3 separate regions of the Homo sapiens genome follow, and all the other regions are linked to region 1. Evidence: promoter capture Hi-C in human tissues and cell types (Jung and others, 2019). All regions are on one chromosome and are shown on one strand. The core of a region is centred on a gene start or on the middle of the fragment in contact, and the rest is flanking DNA. Distances in the headings are between cores, read along the strand shown. Region 1 overlaps NOLC1 (nucleolar and coiled-body phosphoprotein 1). Region 2 holds the start of FBXW4 (F-box and WD repeat domain containing 4). Region 3 holds the start of C10orf95 (chromosome 10 open reading frame 95).

The links. The method cuts DNA at HindIII sites, captures the fragments that hold promoters and counts their contacts. A contact is called where the count stands out against the background at its distance.
Region 2: the fragment with the promoter of FBXW4 here is called in contact with a fragment that was not itself captured in region 1 in 1 of the 25 tissues and cell types used here (liver).
Region 3: a contact is called between the fragment with the promoter of C10orf95 here and a fragment that was not itself captured in region 1, in 1 of the 25 tissues and cell types used here (dorsolateral prefrontal cortex).

Annotation. Positions count from the first base shown.
Region 1 is chr10:102,159,591-102,164,593 of GRCh38, forward strand. It overlaps NOLC1 (nucleolar and coiled-body phosphoprotein 1), which reads left to right. Exons shown (of 13, transcript NM_004741.5): 8 at 306-434; 9 at 643-753; 10 at 862-1,503; 11 at 1,966-2,072; 12 at 2,243-2,335; 13 at 2,521-4,280. The coding sequence ends at 2,679. Among named protein-coding and RNA genes, the nearest start is that of NOLC1, 9.7 kb to the left of the region's middle. The HindIII fragment of the contact is 5,920 bases long and covers 1-5,003 here.
Region 2 is chr10:101,692,127-101,697,129 of GRCh38, forward strand. FBXW4 (F-box and WD repeat domain containing 4) reads right to left here and starts at 3,044. Exons shown (of 9, transcript NM_022039.4): 1 at 2,255-3,044. The coding sequence starts at 2,979. RefSeq lists an enhancer at 1,724-1,803 and silencers at 2,114-2,573, 2,854-2,903, 2,934-3,213. The HindIII fragment of the contact is 7,927 bases long and covers 71-5,003 here.
Region 3 is chr10:102,448,516-102,453,518 of GRCh38, forward strand. It overlaps C10orf95 (chromosome 10 open reading frame 95), which reads right to left and starts at 3,028. Exons shown (of 2, transcript NM_001363580.1): 1 at 2,871-3,028; 2 at 1,322-2,632. The coding sequence starts at 2,578. The coding sequence ends at 1,937. It overlaps C10orf95-AS1 (C10orf95 antisense RNA 1), which reads left to right and starts at 1,302. Exons shown (of 3, transcript NR_038938.1): 1 at 1,302-1,507; 2 at 1,672-1,815. RefSeq lists silencers at 1,863-1,942, 1,983-2,472 and an enhancer at 2,995-3,677. The HindIII fragment of the contact is 10,367 bases long and covers 1,362-5,003 here.

The DNA of each region.
Region 1 (5,003 bases), core at 1,035-3,534:
GCTGTGTGACTGTGGTCAGGGCCCAGCTGCAGTAACCACATGGACCTCTCCATAGAGGTGCATGAGCGTCCTCATGACATGACAGCTAGCTTCTCCGAGCACTAGTGATCCAGGAAAGCAAGGAGAAATCTCCAGTGCCTTGTGTAACCTAGACTCAGAGGTGACACCATGTTCTGTTAGAACTGAGTCATTGATTCTGGCCCATACTCAAGTGAAGGGGAATTAAGCTTCATTTCTACAAGAAAGTAGTATCAAAAAAAGTTGTAGACATATCCTAAAACCATCACACTATCCTTTTTAAACAGGTCCCTACAGTTCAGTCCCCCCGCCTTCTGCTCCCCCACCAAAGAAGTCTCTGGGAACCCAGCCTCCCAAGAAGGCTGTGGAGAAGCAGCAGCCTGTGGAAAGCAGTGAAGACAGCAGTGATGAGTCTGGTGAGTCAGAGGGATGCAGCCTCCCCTCAGCGTGGGTCTGGAGGAGGGGATGAGGAATAAGGGAGAGAGAAAGCCTTCCATCCTTCGGTTGCTTTTTGCTTAAAGCAAGACAGAGCTAAGGCTCTGTGCGTGTCTTTGCATTCTTTTTATTGCTGTCCTGGTTGGGTTGGGACTCTGGACCCAGCATAATGCTACAGGTTCTCCTCAGATTCAAGTTCTGAAGAAGAGAAGAAACCCCCAACTAAGGCAGTAGTCTCTAAAGCAACCACTAAACCACCTCCAGCAAAGAAAGCAGCAGAGAGCTCTTCAGACAGCTCAGGTAAGGCATATGGAGGCCCTCAGTTCAGTGAGATGCTCTCAGGCAGCTGCTAAGGGCTCCCCTGAATCCAATTTGGGGAGCTGTTGATTCCATCCCTTCTGTGTCTAGACTCTGACAGCTCTGAGGATGATGAAGCTCCTTCTAAGCCAGCTGGTACCACCAAGAATTCTTCAAATAAGCCAGCTGTCACCACCAAGTCACCTGCAGTGAAGCCAGCTGCAGCCCCCAAGCAACCTGTGGGCGGTGGCCAGAAGCTTCTGACGAGAAAGGCTGACAGCAGCTCCAGTGAGGAAGAGAGCAGCTCCAGTGAGGAGGAGAAGACAAAGAAGATGGTGGCCACCACTAAGCCCAAGGCGACTGCCAAAGCAGCTCTATCTCTGCCTGCCAAGCAGGCTCCTCAGGGTAGTAGGGACAGCAGCTCTGATTCAGACAGCTCCAGCAGTGAGGAGGAGGAAGAGAAGACATCTAAGTCTGCAGTTAAGAAGAAGCCACAGAAGGTAGCAGGAGGTGCAGCCCCTTCCAAGCCAGCCTCTGCAAAGAAAGGAAAGGCTGAGAGCAGCAACAGTTCTTCTTCTGATGACTCCAGTGAGGAAGAGGAAGAGAAGCTCAAGGGCAAGGGCTCTCCAAGACCACAAGCCCCCAAGGCCAATGGCACCTCTGCACTGACTGCCCAGAATGGAAAAGCAGCTAAGAACAGTGAGGAGGAGGAAGAAGAAAAGAAAAAGGCGGCAGTGGTAGTTTCCAAATCAGGTCTGTACCCAATGAACATGCCCTCTGGGTTTTGTCCCCCCAAATCAGGATGGGATATACTCTTTGAGAGTAGGGTAGTGAGAGGAGGCCCACCACTGGGCTTCCAGTTGTGGAAACTGGGAGGAAGAACAGGAAACTGGTTACCTTTTTTTTTTTTTATTAGAGTCTCACTGTGTCACCCAGACCAGGGTGCAATGGCATGATCACGGCTTGTGCAGCCTTAACCTCATGGACTCAGGTGATCTTTCCACCCCAGCCTCCTGAGTAGCCGGGACTACAAGCATGCACCACCATGTCTGGCTCATTTTTTTAACTTTTTATAGAGACAGAATCTCACTATATTGCCCAGGCTGATCTGAATTTCCTGGGCTCAAGCGATCCTCCTACCTTGGACTCCCAAAATGCTGGGGTTACAGTTGTGAGCCACTGTACTCGGCCTGAGTCTGGCTTTTTGTTTTGTAGGTTCATTAAAGAAGCGGAAGCAGAATGAGGCTGCCAAGGAGGCAGAGACTCCTCAGGCCAAGAAGATAAAGCTTCAGACCCCTAACACATTTCCAAAAAGGAAGAAAGTAAGTTGTCTCACTTTCTTCTCAGGAGCCAGCTCTTTAAAAGTAGAAAAATCTAGGATCATCTTGACAGCTCTGCCTGGCGTGACCTGGTACATGTGCCCATGTGTATCACTCAGGAGAACTGTTACATGACCACTCTGTCTTTAATTTCCTACTTCATTCTTCTGTAGGGAGAAAAAAGGGCATCATCCCCATTCCGAAGGGTCAGGGAGGAGGAAATTGAGGTGGATTCACGAGTTGCGGACAACTCCTTTGATGCCAAGGTGAGAGAGAGATCTGTGCCATTCTTGGGAGGGAGGATGGGTAGTGTCAGAGAGGACAATTCTTGGTTCAGGTTGGTGGGAATCTTCTCTGGGTTCAGGTTTCCTTGAGCAGGGAGTAGAAAGAATAAAGTGACAGGGCTCCAGCATGGTCCTCCTCTGTGTTAATCTCCCTCTCTACTTACCAGCGAGGTGCAGCCGGAGACTGGGGAGAGCGAGCCAATCAGGTTTTGAAGTTCACCAAAGGCAAGTCCTTTCGGCATGAGAAAACCAAGAAGAAGCGGGGCAGCTACCGGGGAGGCTCAATCTCTGTCCAGGTCAATTCTATTAAGTTTGACAGCGAGTGACCTGAGGCCATCTTCGGTGAAGCAAGGGTGATGATCGGAGACTACTTACTTTCTCCAGTGGACCTGGGAACCCTCAGGTCTCTAGGTGAGGGTCTTGATGAGGACAGAAGTTTAGAGTAGGTCCTAAGACTTTACAGTGTAACATCCTCTCTGGTCCTTTTCTGTGTTCCTAGTTTTGTACAGACTTGTTTTTGAGTGTTGAGTAGCAGGGACAAAATAAGGGAATGTTATTTTTTAAGAAAATTCATTTTCATTGTTGTCTCCTTCCTTTTCTGTGAAAGTCCTCATACTGAGAAATTTGTATATTTTATATTAAATCACTTACTATTGATTTTTGTTGTGATTTTCAAAGGTGGATTCCCACAGATAAAATCTTGGCTATTGCCCAAAACATAGTAAAGGGTCACGTGTGACTTTTTATAATAGGAAGAAAATTCTGCCTTTGTGAGTGCACATGTCCACATTTCATCCCTCCTTCCCTCAAAACCCTAGAGAGGGGCATTAAAGAATTGTTGATGTATATGCAATGTCTGTTAAGCATGCACTATGTATTTCATCCTCATTTATTGGGTCTGGGACTGAAGTTTTTAGCCAGCATGGACCTAACCTACTTTTTGGGATAAAATTCTCTGTTTTGTTACAGGCAAAATTCTGGTATGGCGTGAATGCCATGGGTCATTCTGAATATATTTTTTTCTGTAATTTTATCATTACACGATGTTTGCAATACGTGCTTTGTTTTTTAATTTGAAAGCAAACTTTTCTACTGTTGAAAGACATTTTTTGACAACTTGACCCTTCCTAGTATTGAGTTCTAAGTTGAGGACTGCATCTTCTCGTTTTTTACAGTATAGAGAACAAAATGACATGAGTTTGAAAAATACATATCACTTGGTATTGCTGTCTTGGTTGCAGTGGTGATACAGAATTGGTTTCATTAATTCCTACATGGTTGAGAATCACTGATCAAGAAAGTGGGGGGAAAAAAAACAAACGTTAAAACCTCAATCCTCAGTAGGAAGGTAGATTACATTAGGTGAAATTATAGGTAATCTATGTATGTGCTAATGGGGTTGGAAAGAACCTTACAGAGCATATTACCTGATAAACTGGAGTGGGTTTGGGAGAACAAACTAATAGGATTATTGTGTCTCCTAGTTGGTACCTGGGAGCAATTGACATGCCCCCTTCAGAACCTTAACTGTTAGTAGCAGTGGCTGTAACAACACAAACCAGTGACCAGAGATAACAGCTTTTAGGCCAAGCTGGCCTGACGGTATGGCTGCAGGAAGTGACTGAGCAGTAGCGGTACTCAGCCAGACCAAGACGGAGAGGGAAGAGTCCACAGCTTTCTGGAAGCTAAGGCATTCTGGTGGTAGAAAAGTGTGCCCCAAGCCTTCATGGACGAGTTATAGGTCTTAAGATTAGTCTCCTCTTGTTTGGATTCCATACTTGCTAAATAACCTGATAATAACCTGGTTTTCCATGTAACTGCCTCTAGGAAGAAAATGTACTGTTCATGCTGACACAGATATTTCAGTCTGCATGGTAAAAGTTCTAAATCTTACTACAAAATAATAAACTGGCTGGTTTATAATGTGTCTTGGGAGTTTTATTATTGTGAGTCTAAACCCCTCCCACCCCCTACTCAAACCAGAACAACTTTGGTGCCAGTTATAGGACTGGGGTCCAGACCTGTGATTTCACTGCAGAGGCTTTTTGGCAGCAGCTTGTCTCACGGTGCCTTTTCCAGGCTATATTCTAGCCTACGCATAGTCCAAATTGGGGGTTGGCAAAATGGCCTATGGGTCAAATCCAGCCCATGGTTTGTTTTTGTATTACCTAGGAGCTAAGAATGGTTTTTACATTTGTAAAGGTCTTTTAAAAAGAGAATGTGTGACAGAGATCTTATCAATGGCCCACAAAGCCTAAGATATTTAGGATGCGGCCCTTTACAGAAGAAGTTTGCCAATCCCTGGTCTAAATCAGCGATTCCTAAGACATCAGCTGAAAATTAGAATCATCTGAGGAACTTAGAAGCACGGATACTCGCAAATCAAAACCACAATGAGATACCATCTCACACCAGTTAGAATGGCGATCATTAAAAAGTCAGGAAAGAACAGGTGCTGGAGAGGATGTGGAGAAATAGGAACACTTTTATACTGTTGGTTGGACTGTAAACTAGTTCAACCATTGTGGTAGACAGTGTGGCGATTCCTCAGGGATCTAGAACTAGAAATACCATTTGACCCAGCAATCCCATTGCTGAGTATATACCCAAAGGATTATAAATCATGCTGCTATAAAGACACATGCACACG
Region 2 (5,003 bases), core at 1,794-4,293, 470 kb before region 1:
GACACACACACATAAATCCAACAGGATAATCTTACCCTGACAGATTACTAGACTCTATCAAAAAGTAACAATATTTAAAATAGTATGGAAATGGAAAACTGTATCAGTGACACACAATGAAGAGTTCAGATATAGATCCAATATACACACATATATGTCTATGTGTATATACATGTGTATATTATATATAATATATATATAAACTTATTATATGGCAAAATAAGCTGTCCAAAACAAAGGAAAAGAGAATTACTTAACAAAGTTGTAGACAACAATAGTAAGTTGAATTCACCTCTTGCACCAAAAGTGATATTGATGAAAGTGTTAACTATTAAAAAATTAAATTAGGCCAGGCGCCATGGCTCATGCCTGTAATCCCAGCACTTTGGGAGGCCGAGGTGGGCAGATAACCTGAGGTCGGCAGTTCGAGACCAACCTGACCAAGATGGAGAAACCCTATCTCTACCAAAAATACAAAATTAGCTGGGTGTGGTGGTGCATGCCTGTAATCCCAGCTACGCAAGAGGCTGAGGCAGGAGAACCGCTTGAACCCAGGAGGTGGTGAGCCGAGTGCACACCACTGCACTCCAGCCCGGGCAACAAGAGTGAAACTCCGTCTCAAAAAAAAAAAAAAAAAAAAAATCAAATTTGTAAGAAAACCAGTGGGAAACAGATTTATCAGGTCTGTGGAGGAATTATAAATTTCTCAGCTTTGGGGAGAAAAAGAGAAAAAAATCACAAAAGACTGGCAGAGCCTAATAAAGTGTAAAACAGTAAAGTAAAATGAATTGACTGGGAAAAATATCTGGATCAAAGATGACAGACTAGATTCTAACATCTAAGACCCACAAAGATTCCAAATTTATAGGAAAAACAAGAAGACCCCAGTAATAAATGGGCAAAGAGTGGGAAGAGACAGTCTCCCAGGTGAAACAAACACATGGGAATATATTTATCCCAGCCAGTGGTAAAAGAGATGCAAAATAACACAACTTTGGTACCTTAAATGACCACTAAAGTGGCAAAGATTTTCTAAATTCTCACATAAAATTTGTTCACTCTGTGCTGGTCCCACTATAATTTGGTACAGCACCTCTGCAAACCATAACCTTTGCTATAATGCCACCTTGAGACTTTATCCTAAGGAACTGATTTTTAAAAAATATGTATGGTAATGACATGTGACTTATATTTCAGTAAAGCTGTTACTCAAAAATGCATTATTTCATTATTATCTATAATAACAAAAAGCTGAACACTACATGTAAGTTTAATAGTAGAGGGATGTTCTTTAATCTCATTATGCGACAGCCCACAAACATTTACTATGTACCTATTCTGTTAGGATCAGTAAGATAGCAATTATATGTGCAACTGAAAAGGTTTTTAAATGAAAATAATTGTCTAGAGGTGATGGTATTATGGCTTTTTATGTTTTTAAAAACGTTATTTAATGTTGTCATAATGTACTAGAAAGAACTACTTTTTAAAAAATGGGTGGAATAGGGGGCAATCTGAAAGCTCTTATTCCCCCAATTCCCTACATGTTTTTTCCTTCCTATTTAACAGTTTAAGTGGTTCAGAAAAGTTTTTCATTCACAGGTCTCAGACCCTACCAAAAACAGGCCAAATTGCAATACCATGTCTTGTACACATCCTGGACAGACTCCAGCCTCCTGCCTCAAGCAGGCCCCCTTTTTCGTGTCGCTCTGCCTATATGAAGTCATAAACTATGGCTGAACACTGGGACCGAGGGCTTCTCTTAAGGTCCGAGCCCTGAAGCTTAACAACCTTTAGAAAAGGGTAGGGAGGATGAAAGATGAAAGTCCACAAAAATTTATGATAGACCACTTAAGGAACCTGAGTCCTAGACCTGGACTCAAGGAATCGTCCAAAGCACCGTACCAGACTGGCTCCTCTGGGGCGAAGGAACCGGGGCAGCTAAACCTCTGCAAAAACACACAATCGAAAGCTGTAGGGAGTGCCTAAGATGGCTAATTGTGAGGAGCGGCCCACCCGGGAGGGTGCCTACTGAGGGATGCTCTCGGGAGGCTGCCTCAGATGGAGGCCTTGGGGAGGAGGGGCAAAGGGGTCCCCGAGAGTGCTCGGGAAAGGGTGTAGGCGGAGGTCAGGTGTAGGCCTAGAAACTCGGGGTGCGACACGACCCTGGGCCGACCAGGCCGCGGCGCCCCGCCCTTTCCCGGGACGCGGGGCCGGCTCGGGGCGGGGAGCGGGCGGGCGAGCGGACGCTTACAGGTCGGTGCCGAGCCGCGTGAAGCCGGAGTTGAGCGAGGCCCGGGCTATCCGGCGCCAGAGCAGATCGCAGCTGGTGAAGCGCCGCAGCCAGCGGCACACCTGGGCCAGGCGGCCGAGGGCCCGCATGTCCAGGTAGGAGCAGATGAGCAGCAGCAGCTCCTCCGGCAGGCGCCAGAGCGCAGGCCCCGCGGCCGGGCGGGCAGCCGACTCCCGAGCCGCCTCCTCCTCCTCCTCCTCCTCCCCGGCCGCCGCCGCCATGGCCACCCCTGTCCCCGCGATGTCGGCCCAAGCCTGACCCCCTCGTCCCTGTGCTCTTCCCGGCCTGGCGCCCTCCCGCCGCCTAGCCCTGACCCTCCATTCCTCCTTCTTCCCATACTCTCTTCCTTGTGCCTCCTTCCCGGCCCCTGCGCTCCCCTCGACTCCCTTGACGATGCCTCTCGCCCCTTCCTCCACGCTTCTGCCTCCCTCTGCTTCCTCCCTTGGGCATGCCCTCGCTCCCGCGTCAGCCCCCGGCCCGGCTGCCTCCTTCGCCGTCTGCGGCCCGGGCTTCCCTTCCGCCCCGCTTCCTCTTCCGCCTTGCCCCGCTCTCGCTTTTCCCTTCCCCTTCCCCTTCCTTCGCTTCCCCCTCGCCACCCTCCCTTCCTGCAGCTTCCTCGCCTCTCCGCCCTCGCCCTCGCCGGGCCCGCCGTTCCCGGGGGGCCCCGAGCGGCCCTGGCTGCCCATGAGCGGCCGCGGGGCCGGCCCGACGCGGAGCCCAGCCCGAGCCGCCACCGCCGCCGCCCCGGGAGGAGGCGACACCATGTCGGACCGGGTCACATGGGGCGGCGCGGGCCGAGCCCTGGGCACGCCCCTCACACCTGCAGCCTTGGAGCCACTTCGGGGTGCGGGCTGGGGCCGGGGCGCTGACACCACCCCCGCATCCCCGAGAGCGCTTGGTGGAAGCACAGGAGTTCGCGCTGCAAACACGTGAGGCCGGTTTCAGGGCCCTGCCTGAGGCCACAAGAGGACCCGCTGCCCTCAGGAAGCGGCCATTTGGAGCACCTGCCCTCAAGAAGCCCCTAGTTGGGTGGCCTTGCCCCTCTAGAAGCCCTCCTCTTCCTCGAGTGATGCCTCCTTTCCACGGGCCACATGTGAGGGCCCAACGAATCTGCAGCCCTAGAAGTTGACAGGTTCCATAGCTTAGGTTCTCACACAGGCCCGGAAGCACGGTCCTGGCGTGAGCTTGGGTGTTAGACGTATTTGGGGATTTGCAGTCTTCTAGATCCTGAGTCCATAACTTCAAAAACAGTCATGTATCAGGAAATGGCACAGCTAGGGCTTCTTATCAGTCACCACCCAAGTGCAAGTGGATTCTCCAAGGACTCAGCATCCATTCTTCATACCACCCATTCGATTCACATGGCATTAATCTGAAGGGAGAGCTACTGAGGTCTAGACCTGTGCTGTCCAACAGTGTCCTCCCTCGTCACATGTGGCTGCTGAGCATTTGAAATGTGGCTAATACAAATTGAAATGAGCTATAAGTGAGAAATGCACACCAGATTTTGAAGCCATACAAAAAAAAGAATGCAAAATATCTCATTAATAATTTTATATTGATTACGTGTTGAAGTGTTAATATTTTGGATACGCTGTATTGGGCTAAATACAATATATTTTAATGTAACTACTAGAAAATTTAAAATTATACATGGGACTTGCATTTGTGGCTCGGGTTATTTTTCTATTAGCATTGGGCTAGGCAGTAAAACTTGGAGGAGGGGAGGAAGATGCCAATTTCTGTCTGTTTATCCTGTACTCCAAATCCAGGTAGGAAGGATTGGAGAGTTTTCTTTTGTACTTATCTACATCTTAACACTCATTTTCAGGGAGCAGGGAAGAATAAAAATTGACCCTGAAAATTATTCAACACCTAGCATAGCCAAAGAGAAACCTAGGGAAGCAACTACATTGTATTATGGTGCTGCAAGAAGCATCATGTAACAAGGTCAGACCGGAATCTGGCTTTGCCCTAGAATTACTTTTTGATCTTAGCAAAACAACAACAAAAAGCCCCACCTATCTTGGCCTTTTAGTGTTCTCAATCTGTAGTGGAGATAATGCCTCTGCCTTACTTTCGAGGGATAAATGAGATGATCCCTGTAAAATGCTTTGAACTCCTCTAAGAAAATTCTTAATAATAGTTACAGGTCAAATCCTGTTACAAAAAAATGCCATCCCTCCCCCTCTCCAAATGCAACAAAGACTTTGTGTAGAAAACGATTTCCAAACTCAAGGCAGTGGTTTATTGAAAGCACTATTTTATAGATTTCAATGCGGCCAAAGAATTTAAGCCATGTTTTAGAGATCATTATAAAGAAATTTACTTATTCACAGGTACCATACTGTTAGAAGACTACTAAGGCAGGAATACTTCACATTTAGGTGATGTCATGAGTTCAATATTTATTGATTTTGCTACATTTGTGTACTATGAGCGAATCAAGAAGGAAGACAAATGATATAGCAGGAATATGGTTCCTGCATTTTGTGTTTAGATTTGTGTTAGAGATGTTTGTAATTTCTTACTGTTTGAGTACTTAACTCATTCAGGATACATAGTAAAGCTGAGTAGTTCATCTATATTCTATCTCATTTTTAGTGGAGGCACTAAAACTTCTTTAACCCAACATAAATCAGGATTAAAATCCATAATCATGCAAGTGTAATTTACTTTATTTTCATTAATGGAGAATTTTTTTTTGAGA
Region 3 (5,003 bases), core at 1,778-4,277, 290 kb after region 1:
AACCACTGATCAGGAGAAACACCTTTTCCAAGGGCTGAGGTTTGAGACAACTTCTCCAAGAAGCTCACAAATACAGCAGTGCCCAATCAGCTGGCCTACAGCTTCAATAACTCACCTGTGTATACCCAGGTAACTATTGGTCAGTTACAAATGGAAGTTCAGTAAAAGAAATTTCTACAGCTGGGCCTCAAATCTGGCTAGATCCTAGTTAAAATTGGCTATGTGGCCTAACATTCCAGAAAACTCCTAGAATATTGCAAACCTCAGCCTATTAAGAATTAACGATTATTAGCAAGAATTGGGAGACAAGAAGATACATTCATCTTTTTTTTTTTTTTTTTTTTTTGAGACGGAGTCTCGCTCTGTCGCCCAGGCTGGAGTGCAGTGGGGCCATCTCGGCTCACTGCAAACTCCGCCTCCCGGGTTCACGCCATTCTCCTGCCTCAGCCTCCCGAGTAGCTGGGACTACAGGCGCCCACCACCTCGCCCGGCTAATTCTTTGTATTTTTAGTAGAGACGGGGTTTCACCGTGTTATCCAGGATGGTCTGGATCTCCTGACCTCGTGATCCGCCCACCTTGGCCTCCCAAAGTGCTGGGATTACAGGCATGAGCCACCGCGCCGGGCGGAGACATTCATCTTAACTTCCAATTAGGCCGGGCCGAGACATTCATCTTAACTTCCAATTAGGCTGGGTTACTTTTACGCCTCTTTTACTGATGAAGAAACTGAGAGTCAGAAAGCCTTAAGTTACACAGGTAGAAAATGTCAGAGCCAGCCCTAAACTCAGGTCTCAGACATCCCTCTCCTAGTGAAGCCTTCCACACTTCAAAAATAGAGCTTATGCCCTCAGCATCTCGGAGGGTGGTGGGCCAAAGGACCAAGGAGAGTTAGAAGGTGCTGGCCTGCACACTTGGAGGGAGATGGTGAAGAGGGCAGCTGGGCCCAGCGATCAGACACATGCTTTCTCCAGAGGGCCAGTTCAACTTCACGCCCCTCCACCCTACCTTCCTGTACCCCAGGGTGGGCGGTAAGACTCCCATTAAACAGATAAACAGATGGAGAAACACCACCCCAAAACATAACAATGATCTCGCAGTGTATACTTGACTTCGCTCATTTATTTATTGTTTTTTTTTTTGTTTGTTTTTGTTTTTGAGACAGGGTTTCAGTCACCCAGGCTGGAGTGCAGTGGTGCGTTCGCGGCTCCTTGCAGCCCCGCCCTCTCGGGCTCAGGTGATCCTCCCATCTCCGCCTCCCGAGTAGGTGGGACTACAGTAGTGTATCAGCACACCCGGCTATTTTTTTTTTTTTTTTTTTTTGTAGAGACAGGGTTTCGCCATGTTGCCTAGGCTGGTCTCCAACCTGGTCTCCTGGGCTCAAGCGATCCGCCCGCCTCGGCCTCCCACAGTGCTGGGATTCCAGGCGTGAGCTACCGCGCCCGGCCTATTTACTTTTCTTACTAAGCTGGGGATCACCGTCGCCCTCGGCTTGGCAGGAAGGCGGGGGTAGGGGAGCGGTGGGAAAGGGGGGTGGGCGACGACTCTGATAGAGGGAAAAGAGGAAGGGAAAGTTGGGGCTTACTGCAGGGCAAGCTCCTTAGGAGAAGGTGGGGAGGAGGAAGGAGGGAGGTCCAGGCCCTTCTTCCATCCCACGTCCTCCACTTCCCAAGGTGCAAGAAGAAAAGAGGTACAGAACACCCAGAGGTGCCCTCGATTCCGTCTTGCACTTGCCCTTCTCCCACCGTCCAGCAATAAAGCGAGAGAAACAAGTGCAGGAAACTGGCCGGCAGTCATGGGAGAAGCCAAAAAGACAGGTGAGCAGCGCGTCCGCCTCCCGCGCACAGGTGAGGGCTCACTTCTGCCTGTCGGCGGCGGCACACACAGGAAAGAGCCAAGCGCGTGCACGCGGGCCCGCCCCTAGGCCTTGCGGCGGCTTCAGCTCAGGCCCTTGCTCTTCCTGGGGCGGCCGCGCTCCGCGGCTTCCCGGGCTGGGCTGCTGTCGCCGCTGTCGGGCCGGCGCCGCACGCGCCACTCCACGCGGTGGTCGGGCTCGAGCACGCGCGGCGTCGCCTGCAGCAGGAACTGGCCGCGGCGCTGGGTGACGCGCACGTCGGCGCGGGGGTAGGTGCCGTACGCGCGCCGCAGCTCCCGGCGCACGAAGTCCGGTAGCTGCAGAGGGGGGCCCCGCGCGCGCTCCACGCGGCCCCAGCGCAGCTCGGTTTGCAGGCTCCCGCCCTCCGGCCACGGCGCCCAGCTCTCGGCCACCGCCGCGGGCGCCTGCAGCGACAGTCCCGAGATGCCGGCGGCGGCGCAGGGCCGGCGCAGGGTCGTGGCGTAGGCCGGAGGGCAGGCCCACCAGGGCGGCGCGGCCTCGGGTGGCGCGGCGGGGCCGTAGAAGCGGTGGTATTCCCGTGGGGCCGCCCACTCGCCCGCATGCAGGCTCCCGGGCCGGCTGCGGAAGCTGTGGGCCTGGACTGGGGGTAGCAGCAGAGGGGCGGCCAGGTAGGTGCAGGTGAGCAGCTGCGGCGGCGGCGGCCAGACGCCCTGTTTGGGCGGCGGCCAGCTGTACACATACATGGTCGGCCCCCCAGGCGGCTGCTGTTCTTACTGGGGGCTCCTGCGGATCCAGACCTGCGGCGGAGGAAGGGATATGTAGACAGACTTTCTACTTAACCGCCTCCTGTCCCTGTGGGCCGGTTCCCCGGGACGCCGGTTCATGGCTTTGGGGGAATTCATCCCAAATCGAACATTCAGCTCCCCGCCTAGCCTCTTGTCCCAAGGTCGGGCAGAGCCTCAGGCTCCCAGCAGACAATAAGGAGCCTTTTCAAGCCCTCCGCCGGGATGCTCTTCCCAGTGACTCCCCACTCACTTGTCTCCTTCAGCCTTGGGGAGCCGGCGGGATCCAGAGCGGGGCTCCTCTCCGCACTTTGTAGCTGCGTTGCTCCGCTCCATGCCCTGCCTCAGCCACTCCTCCTGGTTACCAGGCAAAAGGAAACACCTTGAGCTGGCCAGGAGCTACCAGCGTCTGTCTACACCTGGGTGAGCCGTACTGGTCGTAGTGGCCCCACCCTACAAGGATGCCCTTCCTACAGTATTACTGATGGCTGTCTAATCCGGTTAGCTCCCAGTCACTACACCCCAGCCTCCCAGCGCCTGCAGGTGGATTGGGTTATCCTCACATTTGAGTGAAACTCCTGCACACCAGACACTGAATCGAGTTGTCTGGGAGCATCTAACTGCAAGTTATGTCGATCCGAGGAAGGGGGGTACTGATATTACCCCTGCTTTCCATAGCAAAAAGCTGCTTGCCTCACAGTTGGTGTCCAGTGTATTCAGTGACTGGAGCTTATGTAGGTTAAATAACTCATCCCAACTCACACAGCTGGCTATAGTAAGGGCAAAATTCAACCCCCAGTCTGTCTCAAGACTCAGGCTCACAATGTTGGTCTTATTGCCCACCTGTGCAGGAGCTTCTCGCAGACTGTCTCGAAGTCCTCCCACTCTAGAATGTTACATAAGCGCTTTAATTTTTTTTTTTTTTTTTTTGAGATGGGGTCTTGCTCTGTTGTCTAGGCTGGAGTGCAGCGGCATGATCTCGGCACACTGCAGCCACCGTCTTCCAGGTTCAAGCGATTCTCCCACCTCAGCCTCCCGAGGAGCTGGGATTACAGGTGCACCACCACCTCCTGCTAATTTTTGTAGTTTTAGTAGAGACGGGGTTTTCACTATGTTGGCCAGGCTGGTCCCGAACTCCTGACCTCAGGTGATCCACCCTCCTTGGCTTCCCAAAGTGCTGATTTTACAGGCGTGAGCCATCGCGCCCGGCTGCTTTAAATTCTTTTCTTCCTTTTTTTTTTTTTTTTTTTTGAGACAGAATCTTGCTCTGTCGCCCAGGCTGGAGTGCGGTGGCACGATCTTGGCTTACTGCAACCTCTGCCTCCCAGCTTCAAGCGATTCTTCTGCCTCAGCCTCCCAAGTAGGTGGGACTACAGGCGTGCCCCACCACACCTGGCTAATTTTTGTATTTTTTAGTAGAAATGGCGTTTCACCATATTGGCCAGACTGGTCTTGAACTCCCAACCCCGTGATCCGCCCACCTTGGCCTCCCAAAGTTTTGGGATTACAAGGATGAGCTACTGCGCCCGGCCTACTTTAAATTCTTAATAGCTATGTGAAGTGCATAGTGATGTCATGCTCTTTTAGTAGATAAGGAACCAGAGGCTCAGAGAAGTTAGGCCACTGTCCCAGGTTCACACAGCCTGTAAGTACCACAGTGGAATTTGAACCCAGTCCAACTGATGTCAAAGGCCAGAAGCCATTTGAGTGAAGGCAGGAAGATTGCTTCATCCAGATGGGGTGAGCCCTGTCTGAGTTCCAGTCCCTTCTGGTGTGGGTCACAACCCCTGCACCTCTTCCTTCTCCAGTGGGGAGAGTGGTAGTTATGGATGATTAAAACTGAAACCGTCTCCCAGCTGCAGGGCTGCCATGTTGCCACACTTTCCTTCCCCATCTCCTGTTGACTGAAGCAGTATCACCAGCAGCCCTGACAGAAAGGTTCTTCTGGGTTCTCAGTATCCCTCAAAACTCAGCTACCCTCTGGTGGTGGCCACCATTTGGTGACTCACCCTGGTGATGTCATGCTATTCGTGACTGAGCCACTGCTCCAAGTCTTAATTCGGGCCAGTCCTTTTGAAGGCAGGTGCTGGGGCTGGGCTGTGGATGGAAAAAAGGGGCCTGGTTAGGGTTTCATTTGGACTCTAACACTGTCATAGAAACCCAGATTCAGGCTGGTGAACCTGATGCACAGCTAAGGCCAAACAGTGGGAGATAGAGAAAGGTTTATTTGATTTGGCCAAAGTGAGAAGGCGGGAGAGCAAATCTCTCAAATCCCTATTAACAGAAAAAAAGCAGCAGGGTGGCTTACACCTGTAATCCTAGCACTTTTGGAGGCTGAGGCAGGTGGACTGCTTGAGCTCAGGAGTTCGAGATCAGCCTGGGCAAC